2 separate regions of the Homo sapiens genome follow, and region 1 is linked to region 2. The links are contacts of gene promoters, found by promoter capture Hi-C in human tissues and cell types (Jung and others, 2019). All regions are on one chromosome and are shown on one strand. Each heading gives the region's core, a stretch centred on a gene start or on the middle of the fragment in contact. The rest is flanking DNA. Distances are from core to core; before and after follow the strand shown.

The links. The method cuts DNA at HindIII sites, captures the fragments that hold promoters and counts their contacts. A contact is called where the count stands out against the background at its distance.
Region 1: a contact is called between a fragment that was not itself captured here and the fragment with the promoter of SKOR2 in region 2, in 3 of the 25 tissues and cell types used here (liver, spleen and thymus).

What each region holds. Positions count from the first base shown.
Region 1 is chr18:47,377,972-47,380,671 of GRCh38, forward strand. All of the region lies in intron 1 of MIR4527HG (MIR4527 host gene), which reads left to right. It overlaps MIR4527 (microRNA 4527), which reads left to right and starts at 2,525; the gene lies at 2,525-2,594. The HindIII fragment of the contact is 4,464 bases long and covers 1-2,700 here.
Region 2 is chr18:47,250,130-47,252,994 of GRCh38, forward strand. It overlaps SKOR2 (SKI family transcriptional corepressor 2), which reads right to left and starts at 1,531. Exons shown (of 9, transcript NM_001278063.4): 1 at 1,245-1,531. RefSeq lists an enhancer at 1,399-1,915. The HindIII fragment of the contact is 10,120 bases long and covers 1-2,865 here.

The DNA of each region.
Region 1 (2,700 bases), core at 93-2,592, 130 kb after region 2:
TCCTCATCGTCCTCCTGTCTTGTGAGCCTTGGCCTGGAGACTGGCTAGGAGTCCTAGAGGGGCCACCTGGGAGGGGGGGACGATGCATCCCCCTACGCCCTGAATCAGGCTTCACTCTACCTAAATCCCACTCTCCACAGGCATTTTAACTAAAACGGATCCTGCCTGCTGTGAGCAAAAGTAGCCTCCCAAATCTATCCAAGAAGTGTGATTGATAGTGCTGCTGAGGCTTGAGACAAAGAAGCCCTCTCTGGTTTTCATATTAATGCTGGGTTATCTCCTACAGTATTGATTTTTTGTTTGGCTTTTGAAATTTCTCTTCTCTGTTTCTGAGCCATTCCTATAAAAATGAAAGAGGAGGTGAGGGATGATGTCGTCCAGGTTGACAAGCTTTGCTGACTTGCAGTATTAGCTGCTGTTTTCCATTAGGTCTCTCCAAGCCTGTCAACTGCCTCTTCTGGGCAGAAATATATTTAAAATGTGGTATGAAAAGGTCCCCATGTGTCAACAGTAAGAGCCTGCCACCAAGTTTAGTCACTGGATTAATCTTCCAATCCTTAGCATTTGGGTCCTCTTCAAGGAAGCAGCAAAGATTTTGATGGACTCCAGCCTGCTGCTCTCAGTCCTCCTCTCCCTCTCCAAAGACAGCTCAACTTCTGCAAAACTATCAAGGGATGAGGCTGGCCTCAGCGGCTCTCAGCCTCCCTTCATCTCCTCTGTTTCCCCTCAGATATGTCCCACTCCTACTTCTCTCCTCCTCACCCATTCCTGCGCTGAGAGCCACCGTCAACACTTGGGTGTGAATGTCTTCTTAGGCTGTAGAGGGGGATCCTCGCCTATGGGATTTTGCCTTTACTAGGACGTCAGGATTAAGGATGTTAAGCTCTAAACAGTGGAGTTTCATACATCCCTCAGTGGAGAAAGGATGTTTTGGAGGAAAAGCAGAAATGCAGCATTCTCTGAAATCTGAATGTTACCCTCCACCTCTGCTTTCCTGGTAGCACCTTCATCAGATTGGAGGGCATATAGGGCCAATGCGGGTGGCATGGCTGCATCTCACATCCTTGGGCCCTTCATTCAGTTAGTCAACAAGTGTTTGAATTGAAGTGAGAACCCATTTGTTTACAATGTTACGCTGGACCTACAACCCTTCTTTGTTAGAGTCTTTATCTCTTTAGCTATTCATTCTGGATTCCAAAAAGAATTATGCAGGCCTAGTCCCAGACACTGTGCTAGTGCCGGGGGTGCAGGGATGGGCAAGAGAGTCAGGCTCTGTCCTTGTGGAGCTGTGAAAGTTGGAAACCTGGGAGTCTCCTTTGCCTCTGCTACCTTTCCACTAGCACATCCAGTTATCTTCTGTCTCCCTGCCACTGGCCTTGACCACTCTCCTCTAAAGCTTCTAGAACAGTGCTTATCACGTACGGTAGACGAACAGTACATGTTGGTCTATCATAGTCCCCACCACACCCCTAAGCCATGATTTACATCCAAGTCTGACCCCTATCTTGCTCAGAAGTCTCCAATGAATCCCCCTTTTCTATGGTGTAAGATGGAAATGGCCTTGAATGGCACATAGGCCATTCAGGATTTGGTCCCTGCCTATCTGTCCAACCTCATCTCCTGCATTAGTCAGGCTTCTCCAGATAAACAGAACCGATAGGATATGCATGTATGTTGAAGCCTTGGGGGCACTCTGCTTTACCCAAAGTTCAACAAGTTAAATGTTAATCTTATCTGAAAACACCTTCCAAGTGAACACGTGAAATTAACCATCACACCCCCTTTGCCCTGTATGTTCTGGCAATATTGCACCTCTTTTTAGCTTCCAAAAATGGTCCACTATCCTGCCTCTGGGCCTTTGCACACACTGTTCCTTTTGCCAGACTTATCTTTCCCCATTCTTGTCCACTCAACAGACACCAATTCTCACACTAATCCAGCCTCAGCTGCAAAGCACTCTCTCTCAGTGACCCCTTGGACCCTCACAGAGAGATTTGGGTGCTCTGTGTTGTTATTCCCATTCTATTTTGCACTTAGTTTTGTCACATCATTTATCATGTTAATGTTGGCTGGCATATCTCCCTTCCCACTGGGAAGACAAGGGCTTATCTTTTTGTTTTTGTCTAAGTCAAGCCTTATGTTGGGTATTGGGGAAAATCTCTTGGGCATTACAACCTTAACCAATGATCTTATTATAATCATCCTACCACCTCATTTTAATTACTTATAAAGTAGAGGATTGAACTGATAGAGCAGTAATCACCAATTGCTTAACTTCATAGTCGTTCTCCCTCTACTTCATGTCATAGAGCTCTTAGCTGAGCCCATGGCCTCCTGGAAGTAAAACTACATTTTCCAGCAGGCTGTGCAGCTGTATGTGGCCATGTGACTGTACATCATGGCTAGTGGGATGTGAATGGGTCCTCAGCACCTTCTGGGAGACTTTCTTTTCTGTCATTTCCTCCAGCCAGCTGCCTGGAATCATAAGCCTACTATCTTGGACCATGAAGATGTGAAGCAGAGGCCAGAAGTGGTCTGCAAAGAGATGACTGTGAATCCAAGATCCACATCAGCTCTGTGCTGCCTACATCTGACTTCTCCGGGAACAAAAAGAACAAACACCACTACTCTGTTTAAGCCACCATGTTTAGAATCTTTGTTGCTTGCAATTGAGCCTAATCATAAGGATATATCTTGAGA
Region 2 (2,865 bases), core at 281-2,780:
AAATTTTTTAGCTTGATGTGAACCACCTTCTGTGACTCTTTTCCCCTAATTTATTTTGATATCTCTATATCTTTATGGGGAAAAGCTGCCCCACCATACAGCCAATCGGTGGACTAGGTAATCTATGGGAGTGTTGAAAGTCGAAATCCCAGGTTGGGTCTGTGGTAAAATTTCTAACTTCACCTCCAGTCAACAGAATGCCACAATGAGGGAAAATATTCAGTAAGTTGAAAATACAGAACAAGGAAGCGGAAAGAAATTTTAGTGACAATGCCACTAAGTGGAAAGAAGGAAAGTGGCTCACTCCCTAGGAAAACAAACACTGATCTTTCCACAGCTACATCTCAAGCGCATTGGCCAAGGCATGCTTTGCCCTGAAAAATCACCAGAGGCCATAGCGTGGCCCCTTTCGGCCACGTACAGCGAGTTCGCTATTACAGTGCTTTCAGAGGGTACACGATCTTACTCCCTCACCCAATTTCTTATCCGTGTCCTCTCTCTGGGCCCCTGTGGCATCTATACAGCAGCCTCTGTCCTGCTGCCCCCTGGATCCTCAGTTCTCATTACATTTGGCGGCCTCCAGGAAGCTTGAACAAACCTCGACGCGATCAAAGGAGAGGAAAGCCTGCTTGTCACTTTGGGTGGATCAGAGACAATATTTCCAGGGGACAGGGCGTTACATGGCAGTTCAAGGCGCAGTGACACCCGAGTCTGATACAACCAACACTAGCTTCGTCAGGTGGCCCTTCGATGCTCATTTCCCTACCAAACAAGATTCATATCCGCTTAATAAGACCCTGGGATAATTCCAACTCTCGCTCCCCAGCAAGGCGCGCGGCTGGCCAGCCGGGGCGGGAAGCTGGCTCTGCGTTAAGGACTCGCAGCCTTAGCAGCAGTAGACCAGGCAGAAGTGTCTCCTCACTTTTACCCCAAGCCCTCCCAGAAACTGCCGTCAGAGCAGACACAAGGTTTTGGTTGGGGCATTATTTTTTGGGTGGGTGGGGAGGGGAGAAGAGACAATTAAAAGTTAGTTGAACTGAGAAAGGAACCTGGTGAACTTCCCTATCCTGCCCAACAGCCAAAGACCCCCCCACCCCCAACTTAGTTCTCCCGACTCCCAAACCAGTCACCACGGAAGCCCACCGCTGCCCCTCAACCTAACGCGGAAAATCCTACCGCTGGGGATCTCAAATAGGTGCCCAGCAAGCTGTGTGCCGGATTGGGGCGGCCGGTTCCGGCAATACCTGGTAACCTCTGGGTGTCTTTAGGCGTGTGGCTGCCGGCCCATCTTCCGAGGGCGCTCGGAGGCGAAGCATCCAAGCGGGTCCTCGTATCCAGCGGGCGGGACTCTGGCGGGCTCCGCGCGAAGATCCGGGCTCTGGCCCGAGCGAATGGCGCTCAAACCCCGGCCTGGGGAGAATGACGGCCTGAATTGCGGCGGGGCGTCCCCTCCACCGCAGAAAGTGTGGGTACGCAGAAACCCGCGGCAGGAGAGCCCCAAGTGGAGCGCAGTCTGACAGCGTCTGTCTCTGAACTCGTGTCGGACCGAGGGGACGCCACCCAGCGGGCAGGGTGACGTCACCGTCTCCCTGACACTCCACATTAAAGGGCTGGCATGTTACAGGGAGGGAGGGGGAGAGCGAAAGCCAGCGCGAGCAACAGAGAGATCCTTTCTCAGCAGGCACGAAAGCTACCAACCTAACCAACTCGCAATTGACAACAACCTCCTCAGCCCCGGAGTAAACTGCAGCAATGGTGCTGGAGCCGCAGATCTGATTTAGGAGTGGAAAGCGAACAGTCTGCCTGCATCCCGGGACCTAGATCCTGGAGGCCCCGGATTCTAGAAGGACGCCTCCAAATTAACTATATCCCTGACCGTTATTGTCTCCTCCCCTCATTTCTGAGTCACCCTCCTTCATGAATGATCCCTCTGGTACAGGATGCAAAGCTGCTCTGTGTCTGAAGACAGAATCCACAGTCAGCTGGAGAATAAATTAGCTTCAGTGACTCCTTTGAAACGCTATGAAATGAGAAAAAGGAGAGAAGTTTCCACATAGGGTGCCCAATCAGAAAACTTGGAGTGCCCCGACTTTTGCATATACATTTGCTTTATAGGACAAGATGCAGAGTCACTGCAGCCTTCTCTATTTTATGGAGTGTACAATTAGGTGAGGACCCCAATATGTGCATATGCACATCGATTTATCAAACTTCATTCAGAATCGTCCTCTAACCCATTTTACAAGATCCGTAAGGCTACCTCTACACAAGGAAAGGGTGGGGCAGGGAAGCAGGGAGGTCCCCCACATGGAAGAGTCCTTCAGCAAGTTGCCAATTTTCCTGGAGAAATAAATAAATTTAATCAGGAAAACATGTAGAAGCATGATCTCCTCCCCTAAAATAAAGACTAGGATGAGAAAACATTTCCTCACAGTTTCCCTAAATGAGGCGCACCCTAGTGTATTAATGAAGTGTCAATATAGTGCGTCCCAATTGACCAGCTGTTAAGAGTCAAAACGACCACTGGCTAGTTTATCGGAAAGGAAAGAAACCACTTATTTGGAGTATGTTCTAAGAAGGATGCCGGCTGGGGTGGGGCTGGGAAATCCTTTAAGTTTTTCCTTTACTACCATAGCTGAATTTTCAATTGCTGCCTAGTGAAACAGTCCTAGCATTGTGGAAATGATGGAAAAACATCTACCAAGCTGAAAGCCCACCCAGATTGTGTCATAGCACCAACAACATACCACTCCTAAATACAAGAGCAAAAATGTGAAATCTTAACCTTCATCAAAGGTTAATAAACCCAAGGAAAGTCAATTGAACAGAAACGTGAGGGGCTTGTTGCTCAGGAGTTGTGTCTAT